2 separate regions of the Homo sapiens genome follow, and region 2 is linked to region 1. The links are contacts of gene promoters, found by promoter capture Hi-C in blood cells and fetal thymus (Javierre and others, 2016). All regions are on one chromosome and are shown on one strand. Each heading gives the region's core, a stretch centred on a gene start or on the middle of the fragment in contact. The rest is flanking DNA. Distances are from core to core; before and after follow the strand shown. Region 1 holds the start of REV3L (REV3 like, DNA directed polymerase zeta catalytic subunit). Region 2 holds the start of HDAC2 (histone deacetylase 2).

Region 1 (3,722 bases), core at 566-3,065:
ATTAGCTAATTTCCAGCATATTAGTAGAAATCTTGCCACGTATGTTTATAATCATGCTCTGAGGTTAAAAACTACAAGCTAATTTACTGTAGTAATCAGTCTCAAATCCCTCGGAGCGTAAGTTCTTATTATAGCATTTATATGTTAGGGAATTTATAGACAGCTTCTTACCAGTGAGCTGTCTCTTTGGGCCTTTTGATTTTCCTATTTGAAAATCCACAACGGTTCCAAACGAGTAGCTCTCACACCACTTCAAATACGTGGCAACCTGGTAACCACTAAAATGCACCTGTATAACACACAAATGTAAAAGAACGATCTCTACTTGGATGGGTTAGAAATGTGTCAAGGGTCCTAATTCAGGGGCAAATTTCGAACTTGAACCCACGCTTTCTGCCTCCTACAGCTTGCATCTTTTTGTTGAGAAGAAACCCTTCAGGATTAGTTTTTAAGAGAAACCTTCCCGTTTTACATATGTAGAAACTGAGCCCAAAGAAACAAAATTATTTGTCCAAGGTCACGCCCAATATCAGTGGCCAAGTCAGAGAGGAACCCCTTGTTTCCAATTTAATAGCCAAGCCAGCTGCATGTTACTACTCTTTAAAACAAAAATTCCCTAACTGCATCGCTTCACCCCCTCTCGATTTTTGAATAAAGTTGTTTATTCAAAACGGCCCTTCCCCACGGTGGTGCTTTTATGCCTTCGGGTAGTAAAACCTTCCATAACGTGTTAGTGAAAAACACGAGGAGGCCACGTCTAACGCGGTGACTTTCACAGGCCTTTTTCTTTGGCCAAAATTTTCTCGGAAAGACTGTTAATCCTACATTCCGCTGGGGGAGGAGCGACGAGGGAGGAGGGAGGTCACCGGCAGCTGACAAGTCCTTACATGTACTTGCGCGTGCCCGGGACGCAGCCTGCGGGGCCGAGGAAACCAACGAAGGATGTATTAGGACGAGAGGGAAGGAAGGGGGCGGGAGAAAAACACGGTAGTGGGAAATCCCTGTGCACTGGATCTGCCAACCCCTCGCAAAGCTGAGAAGAGCCGTGCGTGAATAAATCTCATTAAATGGCCCGGCGCAGACACTGCAGCAGCAAAGAGGAGGGGGCACCGCGGCTCGCGCGGCACGTTCGGGAAGGGGGAACGCCAGGGCGGCCCTTTTATAGGCCGAAGCCCGCGCCCGCGCGCCCCCACCCTTCGCACCGCCCCCGGGCCACGCGCGGAGCCGCGGCGTTACCTGAGAAGGGCCGGCTGCGTCCGCACCCGGCCCCGCCCGTTCCGCCGCCCGCCCGCCCTTCCCTCCCGCGAGGCCGCAGCGGCACGAGATCTGCGCCTCGCCTCCCTCCTCACGCGGGCGGATTTTCTTACCTTGTGAAAAACCGTCTCAGCGGCTGCCCCCGCCTCCTCTGCTGGATGTGAAATGGCGGTCGGCGAGGCAAGTGTGAGCATCGCAGCTCCTGCCAATCCTGCATAGCCGCCAAAACGGCCCCGAACACTGGCGCCCCCCTCCCGCAAGCCCCTCGGAGCCCATCCATGAGATCGGTGCTCCGCCGCCCCTTCCGCTGCCCCTCACCCAGGTGACCGTGCCCGCCAGCCGAGTCATCGATCCCGCGCGGGCGCTGCCGGCCGCCGGCCGCCTCCCTCGCCGCGTGCCCGGGGAGGGGGAGAAAGCCCCTTCTCGGCCCCCGCCCTCCGTGTCCCGCCCGGGCGCCCGCCCTCTCGCTCCTTTTCCCGCCGAGCCCCCTCCCCCGCACTACTCGCAGCCTCCCTTCGCCACACACACCCCCCTCTCCCCTCCCCCCAGTGGTTGCGTCCGTGACATCATCATCATGGCAACAAGAGCTGCAGCCTGGGACCGAGGAGCCCGTGTGATTCCCGGCGGTGGCGGCAGTGGCGGCAGCACCAGCACCGACGAAAGCTCGAGGGCTTCTCTCCTGCGGCCCCTTGCCGGGTGCTCCTGAGGAGGCGGCGGCAGCAGCGCCTACACCGCCCCGCCCGCCGCTCCTCGAGGTGCCTCTGTGTGAGGGGAGGGGGCCGTGCCGAGAAGGGGAGGGGGCGCCGCCGCCGCTGCGGAGGGAGCCGCCGCCGCTGCTGCTGCCGCTGCCGGGTCGCCAGTGAAGGGAGGCAGTGGCGGCGGCGGCGAACATGTTTTCAGTAAGGATAGTGACTGCAGACTACTACATGGCCAGCCCGCTGCAGGGGCTGGATACCTGCCAATCCCCCCTCACCCAGGCCCCTGTCAAGAAGGTGCCGGTGGTGCGAGTCTTCGGAGCGACCCCGGCAGGTAAGCGGGCGCCGGGCGCGGGGCGGGAGCGGGAGTCGGCGGGGCGCCGGGGCCGCCCTCCCCGCCGCGCACACGCGCACACGCCACCGGCGCCGGCCGTCTCCGTGGATCGCTGCCGCGTCTTCCCTCCCCTCCGCCCTCCTCGCCTTTTCTCTCGTGCGTGACAAGAGCCGCAAAAATGTGGGTCCGCGCGAGCGCTGCGCGGCGCCCCCACCCCCGGGCAGGGAGGTGGCGAGCGCCGCGTGTTTAGACTGCGTGTGGCGGCCGGGAGCGGGAGCCGCACTCCAGGGCGCGGGCCGGGAGAGCGAAAGCCGCGGGCGCCCCGGACGGCGGGCCAGGTGGCCGCGCCATGTCCATCGGTGGACGGGTTCGTAGGGCCTGCTCTGAGGTCGGTCGCTAGTGGGACATCCCTTGTGTCCCCCAAGTGCCGCTTTCTGGAAACGGGGAAGTGTCAGCCTTGTTGTCAGTCGCTCCCCATGGTCTCTTCTCACCCTCGCTCTCCTCTGCCAGTTCCGGAGATGCAGTGGGCCGGAGAGAGTGGCGCTTGGGGCCAGATAATCTTTCTCACTGGGGTGACCGTGTGGCTCTGCTGTGAGTGCAGGTCGTGACTCCTTAGAGTTTAGTGCCTGAGCGTCGGGGGACAGGGCAGCATCCTTAGGTGCAGTGCTTTCAGGAAATGTGCATCCATGGAAGTAGGAAATGCGTGTTTATGTTGCCCAACCTAAAACATCACACTTAATGGGGTGAATTTATTAGGAACCACAGCCAGACTCAGCAGCACAGACATTTTGAAATGCTCCTAGGCTGGGCTGTAGGATTGCGTTTTAAGTACAGGTATATATTTTTTAAACACAACTATGTTGAAGAAGGGATGGGAAGGGGAGACAGCCGTGACAGAAGGTACGTTCTCAAAAACTCCTGGGGCTTATGATAATATAAAAAAGATAGAGGCCCAGTTTACTAGGTGTTTTAAAATGGTTTTGCTTTTTTGCATGCTTTGAACTGCTTCCATGAAATAATGGAGTTCTAGGAAATAATGCATCTTAGGAAAGGTTGTTCTTCCCTCTAGCTATGAATTGCCCTATGGGATTTTAGATAGCATTTCCCACTTGATGCTCCTTGCCCTCATCACCATTCATCTTATTACTACAGTCAGTTTCTGTGGACTACCAAGATAATAGCGCTTTCCCAAACACAAGCACTCATTTTAAAGCAGTTATCTTTTAATGTGAATTCTCTTTGTTAAAATGTCAATGTTGTGAGATTTGGTAGCATATTCCTATTTAAACTAGTGAATATGATTTTGATATGAACCTTGAAAGATGGGGAATTTGAGTGCTTTTAACGTGTTGAAAGTGTAACACTTGAAACTTTGGAGGCTGGGAAATCGAGGCGATGAAGTGTTCTATAAGATAGGTTTTCTGCCCTTTTAAATATAG
Region 2 (3,722 bases), core at 368-2,867, 2.5 Mb before region 1:
ATAATAAATAAGTGAACAAACGACAAACGAGAAAACTAGGCTACCAGGCACTGGGGCGATGGGCCACAGCCCGGCGGGGTAGTGGGCCCGGAAGGGGCGCGGGAGTGGGCTCTCCCCGCCGGGCTCGCGGCACGTGGTCGGCTTGGGCGGGAGCTTCGCGACAGTGGGGGAGGGGAGCAGCGTGGGACGCCGAGGAGGGGTCCAGACCGCCAAGGCTACGAGGCGCCGACTGCGCAGGCTCGGGGACAGGCGCAACCACTGCGCGCAGACCTGAGGGGGAGAACGTCCACCCGGCTGCACGCTCCCTGGATCTACTTGCGCAGCGAAAGCTTGTCTTCTTCCTCATTTTAACACTGTGTATGGCGCCGCCTTGCGCAGGTTGTTCACCCTAACAGGGCCTCTAACCTCGAGCCCGAAACGGCCTCCTTCTCCAGCCGTGCCCCTTCCTCCCCCGTGGAGGCCGCAGTGGATGCGCTCACCTCCCTGCGGCCTCCTGAGGTGGTTTGGTGGCCCCCTCCTCGCGAGTTGGTGCCGCTGCCACCTCCGATTCCGAGCTTTCGGCACCTCTGCCGGGTGGTACCGAGCCTTCCCGGCGCCCCCTCCTCTCCTCCCACCGGCCTGCCCTTCCCCGCGGGACTATCGCCCCCACGTTTCCCTCAGCCCTTTTCTCTCCCGGCCGAGCCGCGGCGGCAGCAGCAGCAGCAGCAGCAGCAGGAGGAGGAGCCCGGTGGCGGCGGTGGCCGGGGAGCCCATGGCGTACAGTCAAGGAGGCGGCAAAAAAAAAGTCTGCTACTACTACGACGGTGAGCGGCCGGGCCGGTGTCGGGGTGGGCGCGCGGGGCCGGGCGCTGGGTTCCGCGGCTGCCGTCGCGAGTGGGCGCCGGGGCTGAGGGGTGGGAAGGAGGAGGGACCGACATTTGGCCGCATCTTAACCCGTTCCCGGCCCGGCACAGTTAGAACGAGACCCTCTTCCTGGCGCAGCCCCCGCGGTTCCTGCGGGCGGGAATCAGGGGGCCCGCCCGTCTTGTCTCCTGCCTCTCCCCCTTCGGCCGTGCAGTCCGCAGCCTCGAAGGTGGCCGCCGCTGGGGACGGCGCCGGCCTACCCCGCCTTGGTGGTGGCGGCGGCGAAGGGGGCGGCCCATTCTCTCCCTTCTCCCGCCCACCATTCGTGGCAACGCAGGTTTGGGGTGCCCCGCGTCGGCCTCCTACCCCCTCGACCCGTCCCCCGCGAGGCAAAATTTCTATCCCGGCCTTGACTCTACACAAAGCCCCGCGGCCGCGAGAGCTCCGCCCCTCCCGTCCCCTTCCCTCCTCCTCGCCTGCTCGCCTCCCCTACCCTGCGTTCGGTCTGGCCGGAGCGTCTTCTCCTTCCTCGGCTTACCCTTTCCCCGGACCCCTCCTCCCGGTGGGCGCTGGAGAGTAGTTACTGAGGGTGGGGGCTCAGGTCGCGTGTGGCTTTATCACACCCATGTTTTGCGTGGGCTCCAACCCTCTCCTTTGTTCGCTGGGTTCTTTGAGCGCGTCTTTCTCAGGATTCAAATGGAAGGGCTTCACTTCCTCAATAATAGTTCGGGTTTTCCAGTTTCAGGCAGAAAGACTTCGTAGGAAATAAGAGGTGGTAGGGAGATGTGGAACTGCTACTGCTTGTGTTGTAGATCAGACTCCATGGGTCCTGGCTTGCCTCAGAGAGGTGGTTACCACCCACTTCTTTGTTGCTCTTTGTTCGATCAGGAAATAGACCCTGCTTTGGGGATTTAGAGAGCATTGGTATCTTGCAAAGGCTGTTCCTAGGTGGTGGGGAATCCTGGTATGGGAAAACTTTGAGAAGTGGGAGAAGTGCAGAAGTACTAAATATTCTAATGAGGTAAATTTGAGGTCACCGTGTAGTGAATTATAAAAGTCAGATAATTTAATTATCTTAAGCATTCTATAATTTGGAGTATGAGCAGTAACATTAAATCTTCGAATCCTGTTTCCTGTGTTTTCTTGCTCAATGGAGTAGTAACCTGTTATACAGATTTCACAAAGGCTTGGTAAATAGTTTATAGTAGGTTACTCTTGAGAGAAGGGATTCCAAAATTTAACAGAGAATCTATCCTAGGCTCCTTCTCCTGAAAGTCCTGTCTGATTTGTAGGAAGCAATACAAATTTTGGAAGCTGTTTCCTACATGTGGTGTATTGTAAATCACAAAATTTTAGAGAAGTAAGACCCCAGAGCACCAGCTCAGAATAAATCTACTTTAACTTGTAAATGACCGTACTGTCTCTTTTTAGTTAAAAAGGATTAATCTTTTAATGACTGATACATATAAAATAACCACCTGTGTCATTTGGGGAAAATCTGAAATCTTACAGAACAAATCTAAATTGATCTGCGATAGCTAGGACAGAATAATAACAGCCCTACTTTTAAAAATGATTTTTCAGAGGACTAGATATGCATTATATAAGTTGATTTGAAATTATGCCATCGTGGAGGGGTGGAGATGGAAATACATTTTAATTTCAACATGATTTACATTGCATATTTTGGGTTATTCTTGCCCTGCATTCCCTGATCAAATTGGAAAGGAAGTAACCCTGCGTATAAGTTAATTTGTAAAATTACATTGTTTCTAAAGTTTAGAGATTTATCCTTGTCAGGGCTTGGAGTAAAGAGGAAAATTTTGGTTAGGGAAAGTGGTACTGAGGTCCTTCTCGAAGCTGTCAGTTGGTGTTGGTAGTGATGGGCTCTGAGGAAGTAAGCTGCTTGTAATTTGTTGTCACCACAATGGAACCCTAGAACCAGGAGGGTACACTTGAGTAGCAGTTTCTGAACAGCGCTCTTGTCCTGGGCCCATTTATGATAACCTTCGTTGTGGGAATGGGAGCAGGCACGGGTACCCGGGAAAGGATGCAAGCTTGATAAGTAGGGTGGAAATATTTGTCTTGTGATTGTGACTTAATATGATACTTTATTGTAGCCCATTCACCTGCTTACGTGATGGCCAGCAACAAGTGAATAGCTGATAGTTTGGAAATCTCTGGTGGGTTATTTTGTCTTTTGTCTGTGACTCGTTTGTTAAAGTGGAGTTCCTAGTTGCTTATGTTTCACATACTCTTTTAATTTTTGTGGGAGGGAATTAAAATATTTTGCAGAGATTATTAATGTTTATATTATGCTAATTATTAATATGTGATAGTGTGCTGACCTCATCCAAAAACTTATATTTTTATTACCAGAGAACATTGTTTTGTCAGCTTACAAAAGTAGCAATACTAATTCTTTTTTTATTGTGAGAAGAGAATGCAAGGAAAGGAGCTTCTGTATCAAAGAATCGTGACTTTAAGGTATATAACATGGATTGGATTGGGAATGGGTTATATCTGTAGTAATAGGGTCTGAATTATCTGCTAGCCTAGGTTAGATGGTTTTAACTTCTTGGTAAAGGAAGTAGAAGGAAGAAAGTGAGTGAAAAAGAAAAGGACGGAAGTAGCAAATTCTATAACCATAGGAATCCTACCTTTAGGCTTCCTGGGGCTGTTAGGCACACGGAGCCTCTTGGCCACACAGAATGTCTGCCACTGAGGCTGTTTGCATCTTAATGAAAGAACTTTTAAATATATACATATTGTTCTCTGCACGTTATGTAATCTTCAGGTAACCCTTTAGGTCACTGAAACGTTGGTCCCAAGGGAACCTTCAGACATTGATGGATTAGGTATCCTTAAACCTTTGAAGA

What was found. Contacts are between HindIII fragments. The CHiCAGO score rates a contact against its expected background, and 5 or more counts as called.
Region 2: a contact is called between a fragment that was not itself captured here and the fragment with the promoter of REV3L in region 1, in 1 of 17 cell types (fetal thymus). The highest score is 7.4, in fetal thymus.

What each region holds. Positions count from the first base shown.
Region 1 is chr6:111,481,311-111,485,032 of GRCh38, reverse strand. It overlaps REV3L (REV3 like, DNA directed polymerase zeta catalytic subunit), which reads left to right and starts at 1,815. Exons shown (of 32, transcript NM_001372078.1): 1 at 1,815-2,283. The coding sequence starts at 2,145. It also overlaps TRAF3IP2-AS1. RefSeq lists enhancers at 669-1,028, 2,869-2,928 and silencers at 1,099-1,488, 1,529-1,758, 1,929-2,228, 2,289-2,358, 2,419-2,498. The HindIII fragment of the contact is 6,397 bases long and covers 1-3,722 here.
Region 2 is chr6:113,967,938-113,971,659 of GRCh38, reverse strand. It overlaps HDAC2 (histone deacetylase 2), which reads left to right and starts at 512. Exons shown (of 14, transcript NM_001527.4): 1 at 512-803. The coding sequence starts at 752. It overlaps HDAC2-AS2 (HDAC2 and HS3ST5 antisense RNA 2), which reads right to left and starts at 1,959. Exons shown (of 10, transcript NR_125845.1): 1 at 1,382-1,959. RefSeq lists silencers at 2-181, 157-600, 542-841, 1,052-1,371 and an enhancer at 17-995. The HindIII fragment of the contact is 2,571 bases long and covers 332-2,902 here.